Regions from separate parts of the Homo sapiens genome. Here all the other regions are linked to region 1. Evidence: promoter capture Hi-C in 16 types of primary human blood cells and fetal thymus (Javierre and others, 2016). All regions are on one chromosome and are shown on one strand. Each heading gives the region's core, a stretch centred on a gene start or on the middle of the fragment in contact. The rest is flanking DNA. Distances are from core to core; before and after follow the strand shown.

Region 1 (2,700 bases), core at 104-2,603:
TTGAGAATGTATGAGACTGCCATAGAAGAAAGTATCCAGAAAGAAAAGGTATCAGTACAGAAAAGAAGAGTCAGAAAATACCGTGCAAAGGCACATTCAGAACGTAACCAGGATAGCTGGAGCCAGGATTCAAGGAGAGAGGTAGGTAACATTCAATGCTCAGAGGAGGCAAACAGGGTGAAGAATAAAACACTGGGTTTGGCAATAATTTCAGGAACGAACGCTGAGAAAGTCATTTTTCCATGAAGTTGCGGGGGGGTGGGGTAGAGGTCAGATAGTTAATTAGGGAAAAGAAGTCAACAAACTATTTTATCAAAAGGTTTAGGGAAGAGAAGCCACTCTCCTCCTACCAGAGAGTGAGGAAGCAACTGGAGAGAAGTAAACTACTGTACAGTGAATAAAAACATGGGGCTACATCCTAGAGGCGCTGTGCATCTTTATCTGCACAGAGTTTTGTCACGTCCACAGTGCTTTTCACACGCACTATCTAATCTGATCGTACCCCAGCTCCCTGATGATATAGCCTCTAACTGAGGGGTTCTCAAGGTGCGGACCAGCAGCAGCATCACAGATAACTTGTTGGAAATGCACATTCATGGGTTCCACACCAGGCCTACAGAATGAGAAACTACGGGTGGGGCCCAGCAGTCTGTTATAACAAGTCCTCCAAGGGATTCTGATGCTCTCCAAGTCCCCATAGCCACCACACTCGGGAGACAACCGCTGCAGCGCGCAGGGACCGCGGTTGGAGGACAGAATTTCCCCTTCTCAATCTTCGGCCTGTGTCCTCTTCGCTCTTAAGGGAGGTAGTGAACAATGAGACAGCCCCTCAGAGAAAAGTCGCCAGGCAGGGGACTCAGCTGGAGCGAACTCCGCCCATCCCGGCCAGGGCGGAGGCGAGGTGCGGATTCCTTCCCCAAACCACGCCCCCATGCCCGCCCCCAGCCTCCGCCCCCGCACGACCCGAGGGCCCCCCGCCCTCGGGCTTCGACTTCCGGTGCTGGAGGAGGGGGCCGGCGGCGAGGGACTCCAGGAGGACGCGTCCAACTTCGAGACCGGCGGGGGCCGGCTCCGCTCTTCCAACCCCTCCATGTGTGAAGAGGGCGGACGACGCAGCGGGGGAAGAAAAATAAGCTAGTCTAGGACAAGTGTCCAGGCGACGTGGAACCCAGTAAGGGAATAAAGAAGACTGGAAACGTCTCTCCCCTCCCCTATCCCAGTCCCTCACCCTAATCCGCGCGCAATAGAAAAGGCGGAAGCGCCTGTCCACGATCAGGGCGGGGCAAGGGGAAGAAATCTCGCGATAGGAGAGCGGTCCGGGCGGGGGTGGCACCTCTCCCTCCTCCTGGCGTTAGTTCCGGTCGCAGAGGAGACACCGCCGCAGTTGCCGGTACATCGGGGATTTCTGGCTCTTTCCTCTTCGCCTTAAATTCGGTGAGACGCGGCGCCCCGCTCACCCCGGGCGGACGCTGCGGGTCGTGGACGCCGGGCAGAGGGAGAGGGAGGCGGCGGGCTGGATGCGGCCCGGCTTGGATGGGCCCGAACGGAGGTCGCCTCTTGAGGCCGGGCCGGATCTAGGGCCTGAAAGGCCGCCGCTTCGGCAGGGAGGCCGAGGGGTAGCGGCGGCCCGGGTGGGGAGGTGGGGTCCGGGTGTGCGCCGCGGCGCTGGCTGCGAAGGCAGTGGCCGAGGCGGGCTCCCTCTGGGCCGTGCCCGGCCTGGCTAACAAAGCCGCCGCGGCCTCTGTTGTGTGATGTACGCGTGGGGGCTTCCGGCGGGCGGGGCGGAGGGGCTGCCACCCACCACCGCTGCGGCCGCCGCCTCCGCCGCTGCTTTCGCTGGAGGGCGGGCGGATGTACGGGGCGCCTGGGGCCCCGGCGCAAAGCGCCTCAGTGACTGTGGTCCGCTCGTTGCGGCGGCCGCCACCGCAGGCGACAGGGTCAGTGGAGAAAGAGCCGCGGGACCCTACGGCGCCCCGCTGTGGCCGATGGGGTCCTGGGCGGGAAGCGGGTGATCTGTGGCTCGGGCGGGAGGCATGGGAAGGGTGTGGATTGGGAGACACGTTACCGGGGAGGAGGCTAGGACTGTGGGATATGGGCGAAGGAGGCTGGGCTGGCTGTTAGTTTTGCAGGCCTGAGTGGTGCAAGGCGGCCGCTGTTGCGGTCACAGGCATGACCTAGGGTAGGATGGTGCTGCCCGTAACCAGGCTTGTCAGAAGAAGGGGTTCACCTTTTGACAGTGTTTTAGAATTGGCATACACATTTTGGATGCCTGCTGACTATGGTGATAATCTCTCTTTGCGTTCTGCGATGCTTAGTGGTCGTGGAAGATGTAAGTGAATGTAAAGAGGAATGTGGAGAAAACTGAACAATTAGGTTTATGACGGGTGATCACTGTAGCACTACAATGTCGCTTAAAAGTAGTTCACAGCACTAATTTGAAGGGTTTCTTGTAGAGAGAAATGCACATTTTGACGTACATTTGATTCAAGTGCAGGTAATTCTTTGTGCCTGTATCGGGTATAATTGCCAGCTTTATATCCTGAGAGTGGGTGTTCCATTTGATTCATATGTGACTAGACTAAGGTTTGATGTTTTGCTTTAAAAATTAGTATTATGGCACTGATATTAAGGCTTTATTTCTCCTTTCCTAGGGTGTCTTTTATGAATAATCAAAAGCAGCAAAAGCCAACGCTATCAGGC
Region 2 (2,700 bases), core at 201-2,700, 280 kb before region 1:
GACACAGTTGAATTTTCAGCAGTGAGGCTGCAGTGACCCAAGACAGCTACTTTCTACAGCGCAGAAAAAAACTACCAACATGACTTTTCTGGAACAGATGTAGTAAGAGTAGCAGGTTGTTCTGGCATGTTGTGGCAACTGGATGATGGGTAGCCTTGAGGAGGTGGGCTCACACTGGGTGCTTATATATACGTGTGTATATATATAATGTATATGTGTGTGTGTGTGTGTGTGTGTGTGTGTATACATGTGACTTTATATAGGCAATCTTATGAAGACACTGAGCACTTTGGAAATGGAATTTCATGAATTCTGGAGTTAAGGCATCAGAAGGGCAAAAAAAAAAGGAGGTGGGAAAACTCCCCAAGATAAATTTTCATTACTTCTGAAAATTATCTCAGTGTTCATACCCATCTTAGCAGGAGTTGGGGAGGTATCCTTTTAGTCACATTATCTGCTGATATAGCTCCTGCGAAGGACAATCACGTGTGCCTTCTAAAACAACCCAGCCTCCTGGGTGCCTGTAAATCATGATGCAGCTCCCACCTAGGTCTCTAGGGCCACTCCTTACACTGGCTCTTGCTTACTCCCTTTGGCAAGACTATTCCACACCCCCTGTTATGAAGGAATATGCTGACTTTGAGGAGTACAACAGGAAAATGTTATTACTCTTTATCTTCTGGAAATCCTAAGCTTGTTGTAGTCAGTTTCCATTTGCTATGCCAAGAATGGCTATCCAAAACTACTCTCTCTGTGCCAAAGGTAAAGTACTGTTTTGGACTCTGTTTTGCAGAATCCCAAGTTTTCCCTGAGTACTTATAAAATGTTATTAAATTTTATAAAACTTATTTCACATACACTAGACTTTTATTCAGTGGCATATGTTATTGAATAGTGAAATGTAAGTTAAAATTATGAAAATATAATGATATTTTAAATGTACTAAGGGAACACACTATATTTATGGTAAGCTTTACCAGGGAATTCACAATGAAATTTCTTTGCTTCCAACAGAAAAGCAATTTCAGGCGTGATTTAAATCATATTTACATAGTGCTTTTAAAGAGGAGTCGAGTTTAGATTGCAGTAGATGCCTAGAAATAAGAGGTAGAATCTTTTAGATGGCAGTAAAAGGTCCCGTGGGGTTTAGATTATCTATCTAACATTAGAGAAAGTATGGCTCTATCACTCAAAGTTTAAAAATGGGCGTTGGGAGTATTAAGTAATTTGTTCAGTTCTGGAGCTGTAGAAGCTGGCTTTAGAATTTTCCCAGATTGGCTACCCTCATTCCTATGGGACATTTCCAGTTAGAGCTGCAGAATCAGTTTCTCCATTCTGTCTGCTAGTCAAAGGTAGGAAATTAGGTAGAGCAGCAAGTATCAAGATTTAATTTTTGTGACTGATCTAATTATGTAGAATGCTATGTCTGTGCTGCAGTCCTCTTACTCCTTTTTTATACATATTCTGCATTCCTCACAACTCTTGAATTCTTCATCTTCTGTCTAGCTTTCATTTCCTCACCTCTAAACTCTGGGTTTATTTTTCTCAAAACTACATCTGTATTGTTATTCCCTTTTCTAATCTTCAGTTAAAACTTGTGAAATGCATTTTGTCTATGTTTTACTAAGGAATATAAAAATTTCTTAAGGTATAAGCTGAATATTAACTCATTTTAAAAATCTTTTTACAGATAATTCTTCTATTTTCAAAATATCTTTAAAGCACAACAACAGGGCATTAGCTCAGGCTCTTAGTAGAGAAAAAGAGAATTCTCGAAGAATTACAACTGAAAAGATGCTATTGCAAAAAGAAGTAGAGAAACTGAATTTTGAGAACACATTTCTTCGCCTAAAGCTAAATAACTTGGTATGTAAGCTATATTGTTTTTGAATTCTAATTATAACTTAAATCTTTTAGCTGCATTATTATAGAAGCTTTAAAAATATTTTTCAAATCTCCAATAGTGAAAAATTATTGAAAGTCAGTATACCATGTAAGTCTATGTCAAAGTACAAACTGTTAATGGGTAATAAAATATGTGTTTTAAATCTACATTCTAAATGTGTGCTTGTGTGCTGTGTAAACCAGTATAATACTTTGACCAACATTCGATTGCTAATCATAAACAAAGCTTGGTACATTAATACATTTTTAAAAGATGGTCATAGTTCTTCCGGTGTTCTTGAAAGGAAAGGAATTCCCAGAATGTTGTTATTCTTTTTTAATCTCAGCATTTACCTGGCTACAAGCTAAACAGAATGAGAATTATAGTTGTTTCTTTTCCTTCCAAATTTCAACTCTGTTCACAGACAGGACAGTGAGAGCCAATGATTAGCTAGGCTGCAACTATAGATCTAAATCTAAAATGAGTAGAACTTTTTATAATGGAAAAAGGACCTACTCTACTTGTGGGTTTAATTCCGGTGGCTGACAAACTGTTCTCTTGCCATGTGATATATTACTATGAGAAGATAGAAAAATGTTTATAGGAAAACAAAATTGTTCTAAAGTATTCAACATATGTGTGTGTGTGTGTATACATGTATGTATGTATGATATGTATGACTATTTGGACTATATAATACTATTTGGTACTATATAATATACCATTTTAGCTGAATGTGATCTCAATTTTTAGCTCAATATGATATCAACTATTTTTTAAGTTTTCTCACATGGATGGCATTCATAAATGCCTGA
Region 3 (2,700 bases), core at 79-2,578, 370 kb after region 1:
TCTGATTATGATGAAATTTAGTATAGAGAATAGCATAGTTTATAAACTGATCAGATGGAAACATTGACTCATGTAATTTGTTTTTTTTTAGTGAAAACAAGTTTATTAGAGAAGTAAAGAAACAAAAGAATGGCTACTCCATAGACAGAGCAGCCGACTCATGTAATTTTTAACTTCCTACACTGATTTGAGCAACTCTTGTCTAAAACCACCCTTTCCTCCTGAGGTCTAGGATATTTTATTTATTTATTTTTCTTTTTGAAACAGGGTCTCACTCTGTCACCCAGGGTGAAGTGCAGTGGCATGATCATGGCTCACTGCAACCTGTGCTCCCCAGGCTCAAATGATCCTTCCATCCTCGGCCTCCTGAGTAGTTGGGACCACAGGCATGTGCCACCATGCCCTGATAATTTTTTGTATTTTTAGTAGAGACCAGGTCTCGCCATGTTGCTCAGGCTTGAGGTCTAGGATTATGCCTTCCCTTTCTGTAAGATAAAGGCCTGCCCTCTTACAGGTAGCAGTCTGAAGTTAAGATGTAACACACATACCTCACGGTACCTTGCTGTCTTTGGGTTGATAGATCATAAGGATAACCCTGCCTCCCCCAGATTGCTTTGTGTCTAAAACTTAAAGCATAGAGCCAAGTGCTATTTCTGCCACGTGCTGGAAATGAATGTAAGGGCTCCAATCAGGCTACCAGGCTTGAGAAAAATTGTGCTGTGTCCCTCCATCTTAACTTTCTCTCTCTGGGAACATTTTGATTTGGGAGAAATCAAGGTGAATTGAATTCCAATATAAGCACCCTCCAAGTTTCCTAAAAAGTAACTTGCAAGTGTTGGGGAAAAGTTTTCTGGGCTGTTGCTTTTTGAAGTAGCCTCGCCGTAATTTTTATTTTTCAGCACTTCTAGGAAAGTCTAATGCCCAGAACGGAGAAGGTTGTGGTGAGGGGAGGGCCTGGGAAGTCAGGGGGCCATATGTCCTCACTCTCTAACTCCCTGCCCCACCTCTCTGTCCCTTTCAGGCTGGCCATGAAATCTCAAGGTCAACATTGGTATTCCAGTTCAGATAAAAACTGTAAAGTGAGCTTTCGTGAGAAGCTTCTGATTATTGATTCAAACCTGGGGGTCCAAGATGTGGAGAACCTCAAGTTTCTCTGCATAGGATTGGTCCCCAACAAGAAGCTGGAGAAGTCCAGCTCAGCCTCAGATGTTTTTGAACATCTCTTGGCAGAGGATCTGCTGAGTGAGGAAGACCCTTTCTTCCTGGCAGAACTCCTCTATATCATACGGCAGAAGAAGCTGCTGCAGCACCTCAACTGTACCAAAGAGGAAGTGGAGCGACTGCTGCCCACCCGACAAAGGGTTTCTCTGTTTAGGTGAGGACGGGTCTGTGGTGGAGATGGGAGGATCTCCCATCTAGTGTTCATTCTGGCCATTGGGCTTTGAAAGGAAGCTGCAGTTAAGATCTTTTGGTTATCTACCTCCTTGGATGATAAACCAGGAGATTCTAAACCTCCTTCTCAGCCTCTGATGCTAATGAGATAAGAGTTGGGAGGTCAGCAAAGCTTCAAGACCAAGCCCTGGGCCCAGAGGTGGCTTCCCTTTGTTTTGCTTCTCACTAGCAGTGAAGCCCACCTCAGTGTGGCAGAGCCCGTGTTTTCCCTGCTTACCAGCGGCTACACGTGCAGATCTTCTCCCTCCTGGGATCCACTAGTCTGTCTACCTGTTTCCCGGGGTCTTGAGAAGAGAGTAATGCATACTTGGAGTGAAATAAGCAAGATGAAAAAAGAGATGTGTTTCTGGGGTAGGGAGGGATGTCATTTATGCCATGTCTAGTTATAGAAATTTCTATATTTTTGGGTGGGAATCCAGAAAGGTAAAAACAGGCATTTTGCCCAAAGAGGTAAAATTTAGGCATTGGTCTTATCATGGATGACAGCGTTTTATTTTTATTTTGAGACAGAGTCTCGCTCTGTCACTCAGGCTGGAGTGAAGTGGCACCATCTCAGCTCACTGCAACCTCCGCTTCCTGGGTTCGAGCGATTCTCCTGCCTCAGCCTCCTGAGTAGCTGGGACTACAGGCACCCACCACCACACCTGGCTAATTTTTGTATTTTTAGTAGAGACAGGGTTTCCAACATGTTGGCCAGGCTGGTCTGGAACTCCTAGCCTCAAGTGATCCACGCACCTCGGCCTCCCAAAGTGCTGGGATTATAGGTGTGAGCCACTGTGCCAGGCTGATGACAGTGTTTAAAATTGTTCACTGACATAGTGTCCACATCAGAGAACCTCACGAAGAGGAGCCTTTGGAGGGTGTTTTATGGTCTCTGCGATTAGAACACATTAAGCCTTAGCGGTGGAACTGGCTTCCAGAACCTGAGTTGCCCTTGAGTCAGTGGAAGGAATGATGAATTCCAGAAATCCATATTTCCATTCTGCTGGCTAAACATCTGAGGGACAGTCTCTGACACATAGGGGTGTTAGTATGTGGATGAAATCCTCACTGTTTCTGGTTGTGGATTATATCTCGAAGCTGGGGTAGTTTTCTTCCCTTTTCAATATACAACCGACTGTACCTTGGCTGGCCTGGGGTCCTATCTACCAAGGGCCTGTAAAGTAAGCCTGAATTTCTTGATGGAATCAGGAGATGGGAAGGCATGTCAGAATTGTGTTTTATGCCTTTTTTTTTTTAAATATGCCT
Region 4 (2,700 bases), core at 176-2,675, 410 kb after region 1:
GTACAGTGATATCATCTTGGCTAACTGCAGCCTCTGCCTCCTGTGCTCAACTGATCCTCCCACCTGAACCTCCTGAGTGGCAGCTGGGGCTACAGGCAGGTGTTTTTTAAAAATGGAACTCTTTTCTTTTTTTTTTTTTTTGAGACGGAGTCTTGCTATGTTGCCCAGGCTGGAGTGCAGTGGCTCGATCTTGGCTCACTGCAAGCTCTGCCTCCCAGGTTCATGCCATTCTCCTGCCTCAGCCTCCCGAGTAGCTGGGACTATGGGCGCCCGCTACCACGCCCAGCTAATTTTTTATATTTTTAGTAGAGACAGGGTTTCACCATGTTAGCCAGGATGGTCTCAATCTCCTGACCTCGTGATCCGCCCGCCTTGGCCTTCCAAAGTGCTGGGATTACAAGCGTGAGCCACCGTGCCTGGCCAAAAAAAAATGGAACTCTTAATACATTAGAAAAAAAATGAAATCCCTTTTAAAAAGCACTAGAGGAAATTCTGTGTTTAAAGATTTACTTATTTGGCAATGCAAACAACTGTTTATTTCCTAACATAACTTTTGCAAATCTGAATTTTTATGAAAAGATTTTTAAATTAAAAATTTTAAATTGTACTAATTTTTACTTTTTAAGTAATTTTGAGTAGGTAATATTTTTATAAAGATATTTGTATGGTTTGAAGATAAGAAAATTAAAGGTGTTCAAGAAGAGTTTTGCCCCCAGTTCTGTCCACTGTATACCCAGTCCTCCCCACTTCTGCATACATATTTCAGACAGGTATTTCTTGGAAGAAAGAACATATGCTGTGAAACTTACATGTCTCAGTAGGTCTCATTTTAAGTGATTCTGTAAAATGCCTGGGAAATACTGGTGAAATTCTAGAATGGAAATAACTTTGTGAGATTTTGAGCTGAGTACTGGTAAATAGTAGAAATGGACTTACTAATAAATAAGGGAATTTTATTTGATAACTTTTTTCTGATTACATAGTAATGTATGTTCATTATGGAATATTTGGGAAATACAAAAACACACCAAGAAAAAAGTATATTTATTTATAATTCTATTTTGCTATGTATTTTCCCATTATTCACTCTGTGTTTGTCACAGATTTTTCCCCACCCTTTTTCAATGAGTGTATCCTCCATGTCCCCCCAATCATGCATCCAGTAAACTTTGTCATTACTACCATCTGTACTTTCACTCACGTTTCAATTCCAAGCATGTCCCTCTCTGACAACCACCTCCCATCATTCCATCTTGCTTCTTCTAGGACCTTCCCTTCAAGGATCTTCAGTGCCACCAGGGCTTCCAGTTAGGTTGACTGACCCTATCTATTGTCTTCCCGATGTCAGCACCGCCCCTCACTCCCTCTTCATTCAGCTTAGAGTCCATGTGTCTTTGTTAAAGTCTCCTGTACCCACCAACACCCTTGCCTTTCTGTCAGTTCCACTGAGGTGGTAGAATCCCAACTCTGGTTAATCCTATAAATCCTTGTCCTCCAAATTTGTACTGGAATTCCAGGATGTGGCTGGGGTAAAAACCTTCCATGTTGCAGACAGGTCTCGTTTCAAACCAATGACCACAAACCTCCAATGGGCTTTCAGGGGTTTCGGCAATGCTGTGACATTTCCCTGGTTATATCACCCTTTTGCACTCTCGGTCTGTTTTACTAATCATCGAATTCTCTATGATCTCAACCTAAAAGGTTAGAGATATTTCCTGAGAAGCCCCACCTTTTCTCTTGATAACCCACTATGGAGCTGTCATTTGTGAATTTAAGAAGAAACACTTGCCTCTTGACTATTTTAAAACATCAAAAACAACATTTAAAAATTGAAGGATGAGGCCGGGGTGTGGTGGCTCGCGCCTGTAATCCCAGAACTTTGGGAGGCCGAGGCAGGCGGATCACCTGAGGTCAGGAGTTCAAGACCAGCCTGGCCAACTTGGTGAAACCTGTCTGTACTAAAAAAAATTAGCTGGGCATGGTGGCGCACACCTGTGATCCTAGCTACATGGGAGGCTGGGGCATGAGAATTGCTTGACTCTGGCAGGTGGAGGTTGCAGTGAGCCAAGATCATGCCACTGCACTCCAGCCTGGGTGATAGAGTGAGACTCTGTCTCAAAACAAAAACAAAAACAAAACCTGAGGGATGAGCCACAAACTGGGAAATGATATCTGCCACGTTGTATAACTGATAAAGGAGATATATGTACATATACTATATATATAATCTTCTATAAATCCATAAAATATTAAACAATCCAACCTAGATGGGCAAAAATATAAACTAGTTCAAAGATGAGCAAAAAATATGAACCAGTAATTAAAAGGAAATACCAATGAGCAATAAATATATGAAAACATAACCATTCTCTTTGGTCATCAGAGAATTTGAAAAATACAGCCACAGTGAGATAGCATTTTATGTCCATCATATTATCAACATTTAAAACTCTGTCAGTACCAAGTGTGGGTGAAGATACAGAGCAAAGGGAACTCTATTACATCGATCTAGGAAATGTAAATTGACACAATCATTTTAGAGAGCAATTTGCAATATTTATAAATGTTGGAAATTTGCACACAGTAAAATCTAGCAATTCCATTTTTGGATCTATGTCCCAAAATAAACTTAAAAACATTGTTTTGTAGAGACAGGGTCTTGTTATGTTGTGCAGGAAGGTCTTGAACTCCTGGCCTCAA
Region 5 (2,700 bases), core at 107-2,606, 470 kb after region 1:
ATTTGTAGTATGTGAATATAAAAAGTGACTACAACAACAAAAAATAAAAATCATCCATCACCATTGAGAGATTAATAATTTTGATTTGATCAAAGAACTTTTGGAAATAGTGTTTATCAGGCATAACATCAATTATTGATTTGTTTTGCAAATGGAGGTAAGTTTAGAAAATTAATGTAGACTGATTATAATCATCAGGAGTCTGTAATGGCCCCTATTAACATTTTTTTTTTTTTTTTGAGACAAAGTCTCACTCTGTTGCCCAGGCTGGAGTGCAGTGGTGTGATCTCAGCTCACTGCAGCCTCCACCTCCCTGGTTCAAGTGATTCTCCTGCCTCAGCCTCCCAAGTAGCTGGGACTACAGGCACACACCACCACACATGGCTAATTTTTGTATTTTTAGTAGAGATGGGGTTTTGCCATATTGGCCAGGCTGGTCTTGAACTCCTGACCTCAAGTGATCCGCCTGCCTCGGCCTCCCAAAGTGCTGGAATTACAGGTGTCAGCCACCTGTACCTGGTCCCTGCTAACATTTGATTTGTTTATTTAAGCAAATCTAAGCCTTTAAAAAGGCACAGAGATTAAGTCCATTGATTACATCATTCGTCACTATGCGCTTGGTATTGAAAAAAATATTTTGGACCCTTGATTTGTATTCTTTTAAAATTAAAACATTTCTATTAAAATAACATTTGCTTCTATTTCTGGCAGCTCATTTTCTTATAACTGGCCCATGATTGACTAGTCTCTGGTAGGCATTCGAGTCTGTGTGTCCTGCTTTTTCTGTTCCTGTTCTTATGTTTTATGCTGAATGAGTAAAAGTAGGAGACCCAGCTGCAGAAGTCATTTCTCCTGAGAGACTCCCTTCTGTCCTGCTTCAGTGCCTTCAGACTTGCTTTACAGTCATTTTTTTAATCAACATTCCACATTTCCAAAGGATCAGAATTTTTTTCACAGAACCAACACACTGTATTAGTCTTGCCAAAGTGCTTCCAAATCAACAAGGGCCTATTGCATTTCAGTTATTTTTTTCTATTCCTAATGCTAGACTGTATTTTTTCTTTTTTTTTTTTTTGAGGCAGAGTCTCACTCTGTTGCCCAGGCTGCAGTGCAATAACATGATCTTGGCTCACCGCAACCTCTGCCTCCCAGGTTCAAGTGATTCTCCTGCCTCAGCCTCCCAAGTAGCTGGGATTACAGGCATGTGCCACCATACCCAGTTAATTGTATTTAGTAGAGATGGGGTTTCACCATGTTGGTCAGGCTGTTCTTGAACTCCTGACCTCAGGTGATCCACTCGCCTCGGCCTACCAAAGTGCTGGGATTACAGGTGTGAGCCACTGCACCTGGCTGAGACTGCCTTTTGACTGATGACTTATGTTTAGCTCTGATGTGCTGACAGGGACAAAATGCTGGAGAAGGAATAAAAAAGGAATAATCCAACAAGGATCAAGAGAACAGGAAAGGAGACAATAGCTAATGAAAGGTTTCCAACAATTTGGGGGAGTTGAAAAAAAAGAGTCGAGGTAATTGACTTAACAGAGAAAGCTACAACCTCACTGATTACAGAGGGGAACACGGAAAGGAGGCAAGCCTATTTACCCCCACAGAATCCTGGAAAAATTCAGCAATTGGAAGTACAAAGTGTAGGTGAGGCAATGAGCAGAAAACAGGAAGATTCTTTGAAAGCCTATATAAGCCTATACAATCCTCTGATTCATACCTTCCTCTCATAGAGCCAGCAACTATTCTTATTCTACCATCATAAGGAACAGGAAGTTTGTTTTCTCATAAAATTGAACCAGAGAGGCTCTACACTTCGGTGTGCCAGGCCCAGCAAAGGAAGCAATGAAGCATTTTACTGAACACAGAGAGACTGAAGAAAACCTGCTGGTGGCATGGAGTCAGATCTCTAAACCAACTTGGTTCCAAGACACTGGCAGCAGATACAGACTTACCTCTGGAGAAGCTGAAAGCTCTAGCTAAAATACATACAGATAATGACATCTGGAGGTTTCCTAATGAAATGATCAGGTCCCCAACCAATCATCTTGCTATGAAATCCCTCAGAGAACAAGCCACATCCACAAACACAGAGCTTTCAGTCGACTTTTTAATGGACTAATTAGTCAATTTATGAATGGACAACCAAAGGTCAGCAGGCATTTGAAGAAAGGCTCTAATACGAAAGAGAGGTAGCTTGGTACGGTGGCGTGAAAATCCAGCACTTTGGGAGGCCGAGGCAGGCGAATCGCCTGAGGTCAGGAGTTCAAGCCCAGCCTGACCAACATGGTGAAACCCCATCTCTACTAAAAATACAAAAATTAGCCAGGCATGGTGGCAGGTGCCTGTAACCCCAGCTACTACAGAGGCTGAGGCAGAAGAATCACTTGAACCTGGGAGGTGGAAGTTGCAGTGAGCTGAGATCGTACCACTGCACTCCAGCCTGGGTGACAGAGCAAGACTCCATCTCAAATAAATAAATAAATTACTAGATAAATGAGAGGCAATGCAAACAACAAGAAAAACATGAAACAGAATATGAATGAAAAAAAGATAATGTTGAGAAAAAAGCAACCTTTTTTAATGCTTAATATTGGTATTTAGTATTCTTAGAGAGTTAGTTAAAGGTCCATGAAAGAACAAGATGTTATGAAAAAGGGACAGAACAAGCAAGTCTCCTTGAAAATTAAAAATTTG
Region 6 (2,700 bases), core at 113-2,612, 390 kb after region 1:
TCTCATGTTTCTTAAGCACCTGAGGATTTTTTTTTTAAATTTAAAAGAACACTGCCAATAATTGGGCTCAATGAGAAGGAACTCTCATCGAATTTTAAGCAACATCTCCTAATATGTTTAAAAATTAAATTTATTTTTTTCTCAGCCCCCTGCAACTTCAGCCTCCCAGGTTCAAGTGATTTTCCTGCCTCAGCCTCCTGAGTAGCTGGGATTACAGGCACGTGCCACCGCACCCAGCAAATTTTTTGTATTTTTAGTAGAGATGGGGTTTCGCCATGTTGGCCAGGCTGGTCTCGAACTCCTGACCTCAGGTGATCCACCTGCTTCAGCTCCCAAAGTGCTGGGATTACAGGCGTGAGCCACCGTACCCGGCCAAATCGATTTTTTTGAGTGTGGCATAAGGTTTTCTTAAGGAGAGGCATGTCTCTCTATGGAGGAGACCTAACACCTGCTTCTTTATAAGGCCTTATTGGACCCCTCTTGAAAACTATCAAAAGAAGTTGAAAGATGATTCAGTGTGGCCAGGCTGTGGGACATTCACTCATTCATTCATTCATTCCTCTCTGACATAGAGACTTGAGAGGTGTCAACAGAGGATGCAACATTCTCGGGAGAAGAAAGGCAGATTAGACCTTAAAGCTTTTTTCTAGTCCCTGTTCTGGCTGACTTTATCAGCCAAGGGAAGAACAAATCAAGGAAAGCCAGGGCCTGGAGGGGCTGGGCAGAGCCTGCTGCTGTGTCTGCATTGCCCCTAATCCCAGAAGACTCACTCAACTGCTGGACAAAACCAGAAGGCAGTCTGGCCAGGCCCTTGTCTGCCTCTTAGAAGAAATCTAGGATTCTACAGGAAGGGAACAGTGGCTTATGAAAAGAAAGGCAGGAAGCCTTTTGGAAAGTGAAGCTAAGCCTCCTTTGCATTTGTTCCTGCAGAGCTGGGGGAACAGCTCTTCCCCAACACCTTGGTCAGGTCCCCTTGGGGGCTTTCTGCTGAAGGCTGACGGCTGAGAGTCATAGGGGGAAGGGGGTGATGGTGAATGGGGAGGAGGGTACAGAAAAGACAGGGTCTTAGACTTTGTTTTAATTTTGTATTTAATTATATAAAACATTAATGTATGCCCAAGGTAGTGCATCCTTGCCTCTCCTCCCCACCTCGATTGCCATTTTTATTTGTTTTTTGATTTATCTTATTACTTTTGAAAAAAATCCAACGTATATCTTCCCTTTATTACAAAAGAGGTAGTGCACTCAAATACCATTTCATTTTGCTTTCTCCATATGACAGCATCCCCTGGAGAAGGGTATAGAGGCTGTCCTTGGCATCTTACTCCACTATGTGGACATACCACAGCTTTTTCAATCACTTCCTATTGGTGGACATTAGGCTATTTCCAGTCCTTAGTGTAAATAATGCTGCAATGAGTAAGTACCCTTGAGCATATGTCACACTGTATTTTTGCCAGTGCGTCTTTGTGAACCTTCTCCTTTGGATGGAGAGAGTTGGTTCTCTTCCCATTTCCTGCCAATGAACTTTCTTTTTTTTTTTTTTTTGAGACAGAGTCTTGCTCTGTCACCCAGGCTGGAGTGCAGTTGCGCAATCTCGGCCCACTGCAACCTCTGCCTCCCAGGTTCAAGTGATTCTCCTGCCTCAGCCTCCTGAGTAGCTGGGATTACTGGCATGCGCTACCACACCCGGCTAATTTTTTTATTTTTAGTAGAGGTGGGGTTTCACCATGTTAGTCAGGCTGGTCTCGAACTCCTGACCTCAGGTGATCCACCTGCCTTGGCCTCCCAAAGTGCTGGGATTACAGGCATGAGCCACCGCAACCGGCCCAATGACCTTTTCTGTGGCTGTGGATTAGATATCTGTCCTTCCCTGCATCAAGTCTAGTTTTTGTTCCTCATCCTAACTGTGTGAAATTCCTATGTTTCATGCCCTCCTTTCTTTTTTCTCAGCAGGAGTCCTGGCAAAATAAGCATGCAGGTAGTAATGGTAGGTATTTCTAATGTACTTTTTACAACTTAGATCGGTATGGTAGGGATAGACATATTTGATATATACCAAGGAATTCAAGGTGACTTGGAAGAGAAGCTTTATAAATAATGAATAATTCATTTTTTATTCCAATTCAAGGCAAGACATTGAATGCATGGATTGTACTAGGCTTTTCTATGGCAGTATGGAGAGGGCTGGGTGGTTTCTGCTCTGAATGCCTAGTATAGCAGATTCTAGGGACTGCAGGCGGCTGTTCTTCCTCCACCCTTCAGAATTAGGCCACCCTCTGTGCAGCAGAAACAGCCCCCGCAGGGCTGAAGCCTTCAGGCCAGTAGTGACAGCAGAATGTGCAGTCTGGGTGCGTGTCCTCTATGGAGTGGTTCCAGATGTTGCTTCAGAGGGAGAGAAGAAGCAAGAGGAGGGACTTGAGGATGGTGTGTTTAGTTCCCTGAATCCCTGCCCAGAAACCATAACCTTAGGAAAATATTCCAGAATCTGCCATCAGGTTAAACTGCTTATGAACAAACAGGCTTTGGCGAAGTCTTTCTGTGGTATGTAAAGTTTGTCACAGACCATTCCTCATTTTTTTTTCTGGAAAATTATCCTTCAGAGTCCAAGACACACAGCTTTGCTAGCAATTTGTCTTTTTGCCTAACACGGAGGTTGTGTGCTATGATGTTGGTGACATTGACCAGGTCACCATTATT

What was found. Contacts are between HindIII fragments. The CHiCAGO score rates a contact against its expected background, and 5 or more counts as called.
Region 2: a contact is called between a fragment that was not itself captured here and the fragment with the promoter of BZW1 in region 1, in 2 of 17 cell types (erythroblasts and fetal thymus). The highest score is 5.2, in erythroblasts.
Region 3: a fragment that was not itself captured here is called in contact with the fragment with the promoter of BZW1 in region 1 in 1 of 17 cell types (neutrophils); the score reaches 8.0 in neutrophils.
Region 4: a contact is called between a fragment that was not itself captured here and the fragment with the promoter of BZW1 in region 1, in 1 of 17 cell types (neutrophils). The highest score is 6.9, in neutrophils.
Region 5: a contact is called between a fragment that was not itself captured here and the fragment with the promoter of BZW1 in region 1, in 1 of 17 cell types (neutrophils). The highest score is 10.0, in neutrophils.
Region 6: a contact is called between a fragment that was not itself captured here and the fragment with the promoter of BZW1 in region 1, in 1 of 17 cell types (neutrophils). The highest score is 8.1, in neutrophils.

Annotation. Positions count from the first base shown.
Region 1 is chr2:200,810,557-200,813,256 of GRCh38, forward strand. It overlaps BZW1 (basic leucine zipper and W2 domains 1), which reads left to right and starts at 1,354. Exons shown (of 12, transcript NM_001207067.2): 1 at 1,354-1,434; 2 at 2,652-2,700. The coding sequence starts at 2,662. It overlaps BZW1-AS1 (BZW1 antisense RNA 1), which reads right to left and starts at 1,614. Exons shown (of 4, transcript NR_110275.1): 1 at 1,229-1,614. RefSeq lists enhancers at 568-827, 1,676-2,191, 2,192-2,700 and silencers at 878-1,027, 1,558-1,927. The HindIII fragment of the contact is 7,792 bases long and covers 1-2,700 here.
Region 2 is chr2:200,533,306-200,536,005 of GRCh38, forward strand. SGO2 (shugoshin 2) reads left to right here. Exons shown (of 9, transcript NM_152524.6): 3 at 1,691-1,866. Among named protein-coding and RNA genes, the nearest start is that of SGO2, 8.4 kb to the left of the region's middle. The HindIII fragment of the contact is 963 bases long and covers 970-1,932 here.
Region 3 is chr2:201,184,750-201,187,449 of GRCh38, forward strand. CASP10 (caspase 10) reads left to right here. Exons shown (of 10, transcript NM_032977.4): 2 at 1,022-1,375. The coding sequence starts at 1,029. Among named protein-coding and RNA genes, the nearest start is that of CASP10, 3.0 kb to the left of the region's middle. The HindIII fragment of the contact is 467 bases long and covers 1,096-1,562 here.
Region 4 is chr2:201,223,849-201,226,548 of GRCh38, forward strand. It overlaps a transcript of CASP10 not described here. Among named protein-coding and RNA genes, the nearest start is that of CASP8, 35 kb to the right of the region's middle. The HindIII fragment of the contact is 4,030 bases long and covers 1-2,700 here.
Region 5 is chr2:201,277,480-201,280,179 of GRCh38, forward strand. All of the region lies in intron 7 of CASP8 (caspase 8), which reads left to right. Among named protein-coding and RNA genes, the nearest start is that of CASP8, 18 kb to the left of the region's middle. The HindIII fragment of the contact is 3,204 bases long and covers 1-2,700 here.
Region 6 is chr2:201,201,777-201,204,476 of GRCh38, forward strand. CASP10 (caspase 10) reads left to right here. Exons shown (of 10, transcript NM_032977.4): 6 at 1,954-1,990. Among named protein-coding and RNA genes, the nearest start is that of CASP10, 20 kb to the left of the region's middle. The HindIII fragment of the contact is 1,450 bases long and covers 638-2,087 here.